Linked DNA regions of Homo sapiens: region 2 is linked to region 1. The links are contacts of gene promoters, found by promoter capture Hi-C in human tissues and cell types (Jung and others, 2019). All regions are on one chromosome and are shown on one strand. The core of a region is centred on a gene start or on the middle of the fragment in contact, and the rest is flanking DNA. Distances in the headings are between cores, read along the strand shown.

What was found. Contacts are between HindIII fragments. The study calls those that stand out against the background at their distance.
Region 2: a fragment that was not itself captured here is called in contact with the fragment with the promoter of STK39 in region 1 in 2 of the 25 tissues and cell types used here (H1 embryonic stem cells and hippocampus).

What each region holds. Positions count from the first base shown.
Region 1 is chr2:168,242,939-168,250,268 of GRCh38, reverse strand. STK39 (serine/threonine kinase 39) reads left to right here and starts at 2,674. Exons shown (of 18, transcript NM_013233.3): 1 at 2,674-3,041. The coding sequence starts at 2,834. LOC107985959 (a long non-coding RNA gene) reads right to left here and starts at 2,308. Exons shown (of 5, transcript XR_007087282.1): 1 at 2,201-2,308. RefSeq lists silencers at 2,469-2,718, 2,929-2,978, 3,339-3,388, 3,479-3,568, 3,589-3,788. The HindIII fragment of the contact is 8,154 bases long and covers 1-3,111 here.
Region 2 is chr2:167,291,331-167,298,038 of GRCh38, reverse strand. B3GALT1 (beta-1,3-galactosyltransferase 1) reads right to left here and starts at 5,038. Exons shown (of 5, transcript NM_020981.4): 1 at 4,705-5,038. RefSeq lists enhancers at 3,318-3,930, 5,159-5,772 and a silencer at 4,874-4,923. The HindIII fragment of the contact is 4,904 bases long and covers 1-4,028 here.

The DNA of each region.
Region 1 (7,330 bases), core at 1,425-3,924:
GGCATTGTTGATAGTCACAATGTCAGCAGCAGGGTTGCCACTGGCATCTAGTGCATAGAGGCCAGGGTGCCTTTGTCTGCTCTGGCTGGTATGACAAAATACCTTAGACTGGGTAGCTGACAAACAACGGAAATTCATTTTTACAGTTCTGGAGGCTGAAAGTCCAAGATCAAGGTGCCAGCAAATTAGGTATTTACTGAGGGCTTGCCCTCTACTTCATAGCTAATGCCTCTAGCTGCATCCTCATCAAGCTCCTTCCGGCCTCATTTATAAGGGCACTAATCTAACTCAGGAGGGCTCTGTCCTCATGACCCAATCTCCTGCTAAAGGCTCTTAATACTATTCCACTGCCGATTAAGTGTCAACATATGAATTTTGGGGGGACAGAAACATTCAGACCATACCACAGGAGAACAGACCTCTACAACGAAGAGAACTATCTGACACAAAACAGCGCTGAGATTGAGAAACCCTGACACATCATGAGGCAGTTGGATACACTTTAAAAACATTTAGACCCTTATTTTTCCTTTCTATTTTTAACATCGCTCACTGAATGTACTCTTTATGCATTGAAATAAACCTTGTTTATATTTTAAAGGCACCCGCCTCCATCCCCATCTTTCAATTTAAATTTAGTAATGGATTTTCCGGGAAAAGTGCATATCAGTTGAATACTTCTAAAAAACATATATTTCTAAGTTTTAAGTACCATTTTACCCAATTGTTTACAGAAACATTAACTCTAATGCTTTTGTATAATTTTAAAATATTATTCATATTCTGTTCTTCATTTATAAAAATGATGCCAAAGAGCAATGCCAGGGGACATTCTTCTTTAAACCGATTTACTGTAGAAATGATGGATGTGCACTGAGTCATCCACTCAAGCAAGTCTTCATCCTGGTAGCCATTTGGAAAGCGGTTGACTAGAGACCGACATGTAGTCTGTGACTGGGGAACAGTTGCTTTTTGTGGGAGACTAATTGATCTGTGTTTGATTCAATTCTGTGATATTGATCTTGACGGCATCATGTTTTCCTACTAAGTCCCAAGAACATTCCTGGTCTTCATAATCCCACTTCATGGTTTGAAAGTCAAAAATAGAAATTCATATGACAAAATGGAAGTCATATTCATTTGATCATTTTTCTTTTCCTTTAAAAACAGTCCTTAAAAGTTCTTTGGGGTAGGGTGGAGGCAGCACTTGAAGAGGTCAGCAGCCATGGCTTGGTATAAAGAGCTCCCCTGTTCCTCAGAGGCCTAGAATTTGTTTATGAAGGGCTCTGTTTCTTGACAGACATGACAAGACACAGTTTTTGAAGTCCTCCGCATCAAAGAATGTACACTTAGTTCAGCATGAACTTCTGCTTCAAGACCAGAGCGAGGTAGCTGCTTTACTCCAACTTTTGTAATGCTCCAAGAGATTAAGTGCCCTCATCTTCAGTGGACATCAATGTTTTGATTAGACAACTAACTTTCCTAATAAATTTCTGGGCTTCTTCTGAATAATCTTTCAAAAATTTTAGTGAGATTTCTGTACATACACTCGGGAGACAAAATCATGATATCCCTAGAGTTTTTATTACATCCTCATTATTCTTACCTATTTCTTCAGCAGTCCTAGCAATGAGAACCAGACAAGATCATCTTGGCCAAACGACCAATACTATTGGTTTACTGCCCCGTTTCAGTTGGAGACAAGAACGGTGGATCCTGGTCACCTCCACGGAGGGAACACAGAGAACATTCACTGTTAAATATGACACCTATAATTAGGAAAACCTATGGTTTTACCATAGCAGTTTTACAGACGAGGTTATTTTTGGGGTGTTGAAAAAACAGCAATTAAAAGCTTCCAACACAGTTTATTCATGCCCCAATAAATTATTTCCCCACCAAGTATACGCTCTTAAAGAAACGCCTGATGTCTGGCCTCAGTGTCCTCACGGGCTAACGTGGCAATTATTAAGGGTGTAGAATTTGAGCAAACTTTCTAAACCTCTCCTGCATGTCTTATTCTAATTCCACAGCCCCTTAAATCGCCTCCCTGGGATCCAGGCGGCTTGGAAAAAATGAAGTCTGAACAGCCAGAGACCTAAGGAATCAAGTTTCATTTACTAAGAAAAACTAGAAGGACTGCGATTAGATTAGGCAAGGTGGGAAAGGGATACCGGCAAGTAAAGCGCCGGAAACTTACAACTTGGGTTATTTTCTAACTGGCGTCTTGCAAAGGGACACCATGTAGGTATCCCGCTCGTCAACTTGTAAATGAACTTCAGGTTCTCTTTGGTGGCAGGAGAATTCTGAATGTGAGAACCTGGCGGCCGTTCAACGACCCCGCCCTCGGGGTCCCCAGGGGGCGTCCTCCGGCAAGCCTGATCGTCTGGGGCCAAGGCGCAGGGCGAGCAGGGAGGGAGGAGGAGAACCAGGGCCGGTGGCCCCGAAAGCACACACAAAGCGGCCTGACTCCTTTGGTGGGAACTTCCCCGGCCGCCAGCGGAGCGGGAGCGGGAGGGGGCGGCGGAGAGGGGGGGCGGCGGTTCCCCTCGCCGAGGCGGAGAACAGCGCGCGCTAGGCTCTGGGCGCGCGGCGAGCGCAGCGGCCGCCGCCTCCTCCCTTCCCCGCCTCCGCCGGCGCTGCCTCCTCCCTCCGCCCAGCTCGGCCTCCCTTGCTCCCTCCCCTCCTAGCTGGCTTCGGCGGGGACGGCGGCGGCGGCGGCGGGCGGGGAGGGCGTGCGCCGGCCGAGAGGTGTCGGCGGCGAGGCAAAGGAAGTTTCAAGTGGAAGGTCGTCCGTCGGCCGGCGCGTCCTCCTGCTCTCCTCCGCAGCATCATGGCGGAGCCGAGCGGCTCGCCCGTGCACGTCCAGCTTCCCCAGCAGGCGGCCCCGGTGACAGCGGCGGCGGCGGCGGCCCCGGCGGCCGCGACAGCAGCGCCGGCCCCGGCAGCTCCCGCGGCCCCGGCCCCGGCCCCGGCCCCGGCGGCACAGGCTGTCGGCTGGCCCATCTGCAGGGACGCGTACGAGCTGCAGGAGGTTATCGGTCAGTGCGGCGGGCGCGGCGGGGCCGGCACAGGCCGGGCGCCGAGGCCGGGCGGGAGGGGGCGCGGGATGCTGGGCTAGCCTGCATGCACGCCCTGGAGGCAGAGAGGCCGGCTTCGGGGCCTACTGGCTTCAACAGTTTTTTTTTTTTTTTTTTTTTTTTTTTTAATTTTTAATGTATTTGTTCGTTCTATGAGCGTTGGTGCTGCAGGAGGCGGCGCGGCGGATGTGACTCGCACTGCAGACGAGCCGCATGCTGCAAACTTTTATCTCAGGGATCGCCGGGGCGGTGGAGCGGAGGACCAGGCGGCGCCGCCGCATCTTCCTCCCCCCGCGTGCCGGGACCGCAGCCCGTGGCCGGTGGCCACGCGGACAGGCAGCCGCGGGTGGGGTGTGGTTGCGGGGGCCCCGCCCTGGGTTTCCAGGGCCCCGGGGGCCGCGTCCTGGGGGACTCTGCGGGCGCAGCCGCTCCTCTGCCTCCCGTCGTGACCCTCTCGTCGTGGGTAACGGGGCCACGTAGAAGCCGCGGAGGCCCCAGTGCTTTTCTGAGGCCGGGGAGGATGCTGGCCTCTCTTCCTGACAGCCGCCACTCCACGCCCGCCTTGCAGCCCGGCTCTCCGCGCCACTCGGCGCGCCCGGGTACCCGCCTCCCTCCGTGCCAGGGTGCGCCGCCTGCCGCCCAGTCCGGCTCCCCGGGGAAAGCGGGTGCCCTGGCCTCCTGCCCTGCACCGGGCCGATGCTTCCCTCTGTTTCAGGCCGAGCTGCAAGAGTGAAATCCGAGGCTGCCGGTGATCTGCTCTCTGCCTTTCGTTGCCTTCTGGCCGGCTCACAAATATCACCTTATCTTACATTTTTAAATACCTGGCAGAGTCGCAGGGCTCGGCGTTACTTTTCCTTGGGCCAAGCACTTGAAGGGCCAGGAGATTTGTTTTGTCCCTTGACTTAGAACCTTCCCTATTGGATCATCCAGTTTGAGAGTCTTGTCACTTAGGGAAGCCTCCAGGTTAAGTGGGCCCTCAGCGTCTAACCTTACTGACGCAGGGATGGGATGTTGCCTTTCCAGAATCTTGGTATATAAGTACAGCGATGAAAAAGGAGTTCAGAATATTTATCTTAAGTATTTTTTCTAACTTTCACTTCAAAAAATTCTTCACCTCCTTTTAAAAAAATTAAAACAGATATAAAAATTTCACTAGGTGTTTAAATGAGCCTTTATCACCTGCTATTGGGGAATAAAACAGCATAGACGGAAATATATATATAAATATATACATAAAAATATGTGAGAAAATGTTGGGCAGGTCCGTAACCTAGGATATATACAAGCTTCAGATAACCTATAATAGGCATCTGTAGACAAAATTCTTTGAAAACCCAGATCTTTCATAATTTTTGACCAAAGACTCTAAAGGGATGAGTCTTCATGTCACTGCCTGAAATAGCTTCAGGGGCTTCTCAAAGCCTGGAATATTCCATGGAAACCTCTTTAACCTGGCATATAGGCCCTGTACCCTCAACCTGCCTGCCTCCTCCCATTGTCTACTCTTCAGTGATTGCTTCCTGAATACACCGCTGTCTTCCGCACATCTGGTCTTCCATTCTTTGCTGCCTTGCAGAGGCTCTTCCCTCCTGTGAGTGCCCATCTTTGTGTACTAAATCTCACTCCGCTTCCAAGGTGAGTGTGAATATTCCTTGAAAAGCCTTCTGCTTCTTTCAAGGCAAAATGCCGTGGTTTCTTCTGCCCCTCTTTTTACAGACCTCATAGCATGTAACCTCATAGTTGTTATTTGCGCAACAAGATCTGAAGGCCTGCTGTGTCCCAAGCATTGCCCCACTTGCTAGCAATATAGAAATTAACAAAAGTGATCCCTGCCCTAAGTTGTTAGGAGACATAGGGAAAGGATCCTATAGGATGTGATGAGTAAGTACTGGGAGAGCCCGAAGGAGGGAGTGACTGCCAGGAAAGAGAAGGAAGCAGAGTATTTCTTAGTAGAGGTCGTAGTTGAGCTGGGTTTTAAGTCTGAGTTTGTAAGGTGCTTAATTATTTCCACTGTTGCCTTCACTAACCAGCTGTGAACTCTGACAGGAAGAGGTGGGCCATAAAAGTTGAATAATGGTATCTGCCACATAATTCTCCATAGAGTCCATAGGATTGGGAGAAGTTATAATCAATTTATATACCTACTTGGTCAATTATTAGGGTTAAAATACAAACGTTGCCTTTTGAAAACAGTATTTTTTTGTGAACTAATAAAATCTTAGTTTAAGTTGAGTGGGATTAATGGCAGGACTTCTTTCTGTTTGCAGTCCCAGCAGTGTTAATTATGGTTGGTCAGTTTAGTGGAAAAAAAGAAATTTACCTGAGGAATTTGAGAACAAAAACACCTGCTTATTCTACCCTGACTTTTGCGCATTTGCATTGTGGGAAGGGCTTTTCTACATTTAAAGTTTATCTCATATTTTCCCAACTAAAAGAGAAAGAGTTGGCCTGTGTGGAGGCCCTGTTATTGAAAAATCAAATTGCTGGAATAGGTTTTTCGCAAGGGCTTAATGTTTATAAGGAATTACAAACCTGTTTCCATTTAGGGTTTAATGCTAGTTGAGAGATTAAGACTGAACTTGTGGTTAAGCACTTTTGCTTAAACATTACACGCAGAAGTTAGCAGTTCAAACACTGAACCAGTTTCAACATGAATGCCAGTTGACAGCCTTTGCTTCTACCCGCCATACGGCAGGTGTCATATGATATGACTCCAGCAGTGTGAACCGTGACCAGCAGCAGGAGGCTCAGATGTGCCTGAACAGAAAACCAAAGGAGGCACCGTGTTTTAACTTTCCAGCATGGCACGGGCACGGAGGACTTTTTCTTCATTTCCTTCTGGGCAGAGTTTGGTCCCCCAGGATTAAGAGAGAATAAGTTTACTAAAATCCAAACAAAGCAGGTTCAGTTGTTTGACTTCAGTTTTAGAAAAATAAACACAGGATTTTGCAAACCTAAAAATAAAGTTTTCTCTTTATTGTATTGTTGTTCTTGTGTTTTAAAACGTCAGTGGAGAAATTGTAATGCTCTTAGGAGTATTCTGGTTCATAAGTTTATTCATGACCTGGAAATGATGTAAAATCGATGGGAGGGAGCTTTATATTTACAGAGGGGTTAAAAATGTTGGAAATTATTAAATTCCTTCTTCCAGACATTGATATCCTTGTCTTAGTAGATTTCAAATATTTCTGTCTTTTTGGAGGCTTTCCGACCTGTTTATACTCTTCAGCCTTGTTAATCTTTGTTCCTTACCTCTCTAAAGAAGGAATTTGGGGGTGAGTTGAGCCCCCAAAAGTAGGTACCCCTACCTTTAGAAGTATAAGGGGCACTTAAAGCTATGCCAGTTGAAAACTTAGTTTATTTGTTGGGGGTGTTAATAATATTACCTAGATTTGCTAAACAGGGAATGAAAGTGAATCATATAAGTGTTTACTTGGCCATCCGTAATGGAATGGAGCAGCCTCAATGAACTTCTCATTCAAAGAATTGTAGTCATTGAAGTACTAATTTCTGTATTTGAATTAGGTGATTCCAGCAATGTTGTTATCTTTGCTGAATTTCTTCTGAGAAACCCTAGACTCCTGCCTCAGCAGGAGTTTGTTTGATTTTCTTAGGGTTTTTGCAGGATGCACCTTTCTTTATGTAGTTTTATACTAGATTTCTCAGCATTGCTTCACTTTTGTCCCGGGTGGTCATTTAGAATGACCTAAAAGTAACAAATTGCCATCTTAGTCAACACGAAGAATTTGAGTTCTAGAATCCTGGACATGGTTTGACAGAGGGTTCCTTTGAATGCTTTATTTCTCTCCTGTGAGGCATTGTTTATCCATTCAGGTGCGTTTTACTCAGGTCCAGGTAATAGCACATATGGCCAGGTCTTTAAGGAGCAACAGCCTCTTGTAAAATGAGATTGTAAATAGCCCTGGGCATTCCCACTTTGCTCTGTGCTCTCAGAGTTTCTGTGGATTTCTATGGTTTGGGGGTTAGAATTGGTTTTTATAGATATCCTAGAGGCAGTTTGAGGACAGTGGTACCTTCGCTGGCGCTAGGGTAAGGGAGCCGGAGCACTGAGTGTGTTCTGATCTCCCAGACCTTTATACCAGGCTGCCTTGCTGCTGCAGTGGGTTCTTTGATCTTGATTAGTTTGTTTGTTGTTGTTTTTAAAATACTAAATGATGTCTGAAATGCTTTGTCTCAAGACAGGGCTTTGATTTTCATTTCATTTCACTTTCTTTTTTAATAAATAGAAA
Region 2 (6,708 bases), core at 327-2,826, 950 kb after region 1:
AAACTAGGGCAAAAAAGATAAAGGCTTAAATGAGTGCTGAATGCATTCTTGAATCTGGAGAAATAAAATACTGAGTTGACAATATCAGAAAGTCTTTCTCCATCTCCTAAAACTGGGGTGGGTAGCAGCAATCTTGAAGGCTTTTCTTGAATGATGTACCCTGCACTATTGTCCTGTAATCATACGACCTGTGAATAAGTTGGCACTAATTCATTATGTGCTATAACTTCTTCGGAGTATAATTTCAGCTTCTGTCTAATATGAAAATATTGTTCGCAAACTGGTTTTTGAAAGTCAAGCTAGGTTCCATTCTTCATATGAGGATAAGTAATAATTCTGAGATGTAAGCTAAAGACCCCAAAGAAAGTAATGAAACAGAAGCACAGAAAGTGAAACTGGAATCATAATTGTACAGCTTTTTTTGCATAAAAGAATAGAACCTGGGATCTAGGTAAAATTTAGCAAAGTTTGATCTGTAATTGGACTGACTGCATACGCAAATCTATTTTTAATTAAAGACAAGCTTACTTGAAAATTGTTGTTTCAGCATTTCTTACTAGATGATCAGATCATGAGTCTTTTTATTTTTTTGATGCATAAACTTTAAGGAAACTTTGACCTCAAAACCTAGTTTTTTTTTTTTAATCAGTTTTTACAGAGGTACATAAATGTGATACCTTCAATGTGGAAGAGAAAGAAGAATTCTCATTACAAACATGCTTTTGAATCTTTCCTAACTACTAAAATTCACTCATCCCTTTTGAATGAAGTTCTGTAGATTTGACTTTGCACAGTCATAAATACTGTTATTTTGTTTAAATGTTGTTAATTTGGAACCATTACATTAAAAGATAATGTTGTCCTCTAGTTCCTCTGAAAATATTATAATTTGATTTTAAAGATATTTTAAAGGACAGATATCATATCATGTTATTGCTGAATAATCATCTTTAGATCTCTCTTTTTTGCCTTTAACCCTCACATATTACGCAGTGTTATTGTTCTCATACATAGCTTCAGGATCAATATGTATTAGTTTTCCATTCTTACATTAATTTGTGTAGGTATATATGAGTGGGGACATATAAGTTCAAGAGAAAATGAGATGGAAAGAGATTGGTCCATGAGATCTAGATCTTAGAATAAACAGGTTGGTAGGAGATAAATATTCTATATAAGTTATCACTATATTTTTATGATCTATTGCACCCCAATAGAATATAAACTGCAAAAGGGTGGGGATCTTTGTGTGATTTACTCATACAAGTATTCATTGAATTCATACAATAGTGTATGTATTCATTCACACAGTCAAAGCAAACAGAACAGTATTTTGCACATAGTAGGAACACAGTACAATTTGTTAAATGTTATTTGAATAAACCAGTATCATAATAATAGATTAGTAAAGAGAACGAGAATATTCCTTTATGATGCACATTCATCATTCAGAATAGATTAGTCAATTTGTTTCAAATGCAGCATGGCGAAATTCCTTCTGAGAACCTTTCTAGTATGCATGTGTTTTTGTGTGGTGAGAGAGAGCGAAAGAAAGAGACAGACTGAAAGAGACAAAGAAAAAATGAGAATGAACTTCTGATTTACTAACCAGTTGAAGTTTTTAATTCCCCTAACATTGTTAGTTTTAGAAAAAGAATGATTTCACTATTAATTAAAACAAATCGCTATAAACCTCACTTTCTTACCTATTCACGTACAAACACTAATCGTGACTATCTGACAAATTAAATAAGTTTTATTTCATAAAATAATTGTATCTATTAGCATTGCTATTCATATTGATGTGATCTTCTTAGAAAAGTTATCCGATGAGTATTAAAATTAAAATTTTGTACAAGTCAAGAAGTGAATTTAGTGGCCTAGGGTCTTCACAAGTTGACATTACTTGTATTACTAAAATTCATCTAGAATATATGGCAGTCTAAGCTCATGGGCTGCCCTGAAGCAAAACAAGTTAAAGCTTAAGTACATTCGCAGAAATGGTACAATTTGAACTGCTTGTATAAATTAAGTGGCTGGCACTACCCATTAGCTCCCTAAAGCCTGTGCCCACCCCCAACCCCAACTCTGCATCATTTGTTTATGCTTAAACATATTTCCTATGGCCTTATCCTAATATTTATGACCATTGACACAATTCTCTGTACTTGATTATATTTGTCCTACTCGTTTTAAAATTATCTAAAAAAAGATTTCCTCCAAGTAAAAGTTCCATACACACACACACACACACACACACACACACACACGTACACACACAACCTTAAAATGAGCACAAAGGCTCTTAATTCCATTTTAAGACTTGTGGCTTACTCCAATACATAATGCAGTGGATATATAAAATGTTACTTGATGTCAAGGTGAAAAAGCACTTTCTTAGCCAAGTCGTTAAAATTTTCCTTAGAAGTTCCATTTTTAGTACTGGCTGTTACTGATAGCTTAGTTTTAATTGAAGTTTATTTTAAAATTGTTAATTAATAAGTATAACACACTTTAATCCTATTTCCCCCATATTAACCTATGAGGAAAACAAAAAGTTTTACCAGCACATAGTATTGCATAAAAGAAACACAAAACTAACATAAACTGCTTAGCCTGTTTTAGTAACCTTAACAAAGTCCTGAAGGTTTCAATAACTAAAATATTGCAATATTAATCACCTGGAAGCAGGTAAATTTTGTATAGAACAACCACCACAAACTATATACTTTCTTTAATCATATCAGAAAACCACACTTTTAAGCCAGACATGATGAATGCTAAGAAGAAAATACTTAGCACCAATTTTTTACTAGTCCAAATGCAGTATGTGTGACTAAAATCATAATAAAAAAATCCATTTACAGCACAACAATTAAGTGATGAAAACCATGAGACCATCCTTGGACCCAAAACTAACATCACTACTAGTTTATCGTAAGTTATTCATCTGCTTTAAAATAACTTAGTTGTTAAATTGGGAGAAAATAGAATCTTTACAATGAAAAATAACTATCGAAAAATGCCTGACATATTTGGACAGCTCCCTCCTGATTTTCTATAGCATTTCTATTACGTGCCTTACTTTCATTTTCTCTGGTTTACCAAATCAGAAATGAGCCCAATCAAAGTGGTTTCTGCGGTTTGGTTTTGGGTATTTTTGTTGTGTTGTGATTTGTTTTGTTTTGGGACAAAAGATCCCTCTAGTGAAAGAGATTACGGAGCTACATAACAAGAAAAATGCTGTCCCCAGTTCAAGATCCGCCTCCCTGTATTGAGCCAATTTTTGTTTTACCAAAGCTGGCAGGCAGGGAGCTGATGTTCCACCTCCATTCCCTGCTGCAACCCCAACGCCAGTCAAGTACCGGAGCCTCGCCCCATCTGAGACAGTGGGGAGAGCTCCTTAGTATTGAGGTATTTCAAGAACTTTCCTAAGCAGATACTCCCACGGAGACAAGGAGCCACATAGAAAACAATCGCCAAGAGTAAGTTTGTGCGTCCTGAGCAGGGATGGAGAACCCACTGCACTGAACTACGGAGATTCGGATCTGGCCCAGTAGCACCATCCATTTGCAGCAGCGCAAAGAATTCGCCTTCTGCGGAAGGCTTTGCAGCACGGGTGGAACTCTCAACAGCTTTATCAAATAAGATAATCTAATATGAAACAAAAACGCTCTGGAGGCAGCTGGGTACCCTAACCTGGTTACTCTGCGTGGTTAACGTGTCCTAGGTCTGATGGACCAGACCCCAGCGGGCCTGAACTTTGTCGGAAAGCGGAGCCGCCAGGCATTTGGCAGCTGCCAGAGGCGCACCAGGCCGGGTCTCAACCTGGGAGGTCAGCGGGCCAAAGCGGCCTGGGGAGGCAGTGGCCCCACCTGGACGCCGGGCCGTCGGGCGTCGGAGCCCCGCTCTGCCTCCACCAAGCTGTCCCGCTGCGCCCTACGCCGCCACCAGGCAGGAGGAGCCGCTACCAGTACCTCAGAGTGGGACTCTCCATCCTCAAGTCTGCGCTCCAGAAAAGTGTAGCAAGCCTCCCACGCGGGGCTTCAGACACCTAAAAGTCGCCACTCCCCCAAGAGTAACCTCCACCCCCACCCCCACCCCCAACTTCTCTTTCCTCCTTTTCTTCAGCAATGTGGACCAACAGTTACTTTTCCCTCTCTTCCCTTCCCCTCCGAAGTCCCCGGGGCAAAGTGGGACTTTGGGGAGCCTCGTGGAACGCGCCTCTCCCCTGGCGCGCCAGGTCCACAGCTCCTTTTAATCACCGCAATAAAGTTCAATTTGCTCGGCTCTTTACGAGCCACGGTGGACTTTCCCGTGCGCTCCGTGCGTTCTACCTCCCGCCGAGCCAACAGCATCCTACTCACTCCAGCCCAGCTTGGGTCCTTGAAGGACGTCGGGCCACGCAGAGGGGACCCACTGTTCTCGCTGCAAAGTGCCCCAAGCCGCGCGCGCGCACACACGCATCCACATCCACACTCACACAATGCCATCCCCGCGCTGTCAAAGTCTGTGAGCGCGGAAGGGAGAACGCACCAGCTGGAGCCGCACGGGCGCGGGCAGTAGCACAGCCCAGCGTCGGGACACGCAGTCCGGGTCCCAACACCTTCGTCGGGATGCCCCGGCCACCACGCGCCTCGTAACCCCCAAAGACCACGCCAGCCGTCCCGGGGGCGTCGCGGGCGCTGCCGGACAGAACCTTACCCGCGGGGCGCGTGGTCTCCGGCCGCTGGGCTGGCGCGCGGGCCACAGGGACGCTGCAGCCAGGGTCCCGAAGATGCTGCTGCTCCGCTGCCGCTGCCCCGATCCCCGGCGCCAGCATCACTTCTCTGCCGCCCCCGCCTCCTCGTGCTCCGCTCTCTCGGCCGCCCCTCCCCGGCGGCCGCCTGCAAGACCGGCAGCGCCGGCGGCGCGGCGGGGTGGGCAGCAGCAGAGGCGGCGGCGGCGCCCGCGCGAGCTCGCCCAGCTGCACTAGCCGAGCAGCCGCGGCGGCAGCCGAAGCACCCGAGCCCGGCTGCGCTTCCCCGGCGATGGCTCTGGCCTCGGCGACTGACAACGCCCGGCAGCCAATCGCTGCCTCGCCCCGCTCGGCGGGGGGAGACCAATCAGAGCGGAAGGCCCAAGGTTTTCCTCCGCCTTTGCTCAGCGGGCTTGTTTCCGGGAGAGGCAGCGACGCTGCTGGGGTTTGGGATGGGGGAGGCGCGGGAGGGGCGCAGGATGGGGGACTCGTGGCCCCGGAGCCTTAGGTGAGGAGGGAAAGCCGGGCCCGCAGGGGTGGGCCTGGGGCGCTTTCTGACCGCCAGGAGCCCGCGGCTTGGCAGGAAAGGGCGCCGCGGGGTGACTTTGTCCCCAGAGCCTCGTCCCTGCGGTTCAGCGTCTTGGCATCGCTGGGGCGAGGGGGGAGCGGGGAGGGGTCGCGGGACCCGAGTACGAACGGCGCGGCTGGAGAGCGAATCCCAGGAGGTGGTCGCCGCCTTGAAGGAATCACGCGAACAGTCACCAGACAGCGCCCCCGTCCTTCTCCCTTTGGCAGCTGAAAAGAGTACTACTTCTTAGGCTTCGAACCACTCCTCATAGTAATCAGCCACGAAGTGTCCCCAGCTAGCAAAGAGGCACACGGAGAAATGTCGGAGTTGTAGGCAGAGTGGACCTTCCCCGTCTTCCCTCCAAATAAACGCCCCTCACCTCCCCACCCCAAACGCAACAAACAAACAAACAAAAAACCTTGAGAATGGGGAAAGATAATTTAAGCAGCCACCCTAATTGGTTGGCTTCCTTTTTTTCCTTTTTCTTTGGATAATCAAGTCTGAATGTTCTAATAGTTTTTTTTAATGTGTGTTTGACTCAAACACTAGCGAAGTAATGTTATTTAGCAATAAAAGAAAAAGAAAACAAAAGCCACAAAATGTTTTTCTGCACCACTCTCCCCTAAATTGTAATGATCTTCCCTTATGGAACATTTTTAGTTTCTTTAGTACAAATATGTCTGAATGGCTCAGAGTTCTACCAATAAGTTTATATTACAATGTTCTAGTAAAAAAAAAAAAAAAAGTTGTACATGAAGGTTGTAATAAGCTTGGGACCTTCCCAAAGTGACCCTCTGATAAATAGTCATACCCACCTCACAACGTTGTTGTGAGGGTCAAAAATCAAGTGTGTATATCAGCTACATAGTTGACAAATTGCTGGAATTCAATGTGTCTTAGCTATGATGCTGAAGCTCTTCTTGCTAATTGTATTTTTAAGGGATCCTTTTTGTTTGCAATAATAATCACCCTTTTCTTCACTTACCTTACTCTTTAAAAACTCCATATATCCTGTGATCACCAAAACAAACCCTGTCTAAATTTTATTAGCATTATGAGGAAAATTTGATTGCAAAATAGATGTGTATTGCCATCTTTTAGTACTATAGAAATTATGTGCATATCATCACTGTTTTTTCCAATTCTCTTATGCCTTCCTCCCCTTCAGTAATTTGACCAATGTAGTTTGGGAGCCAGATGATCTCTTCTTAAAAGAACTGGCTGTGCTAATAGATAAGTTCATTTTTTTAAAGGCTAAAAACAGAGAATATGGACCACACCACACTAGATTTTTAATCTAGAGAGGGGTTTTTGTTGTTGTTTTGTTTTCAGAAATTGTATATGTAGTTCTTTATTATTGTGCAATGACATAAAATCAGCACCCTAATTGACTATATGAGGT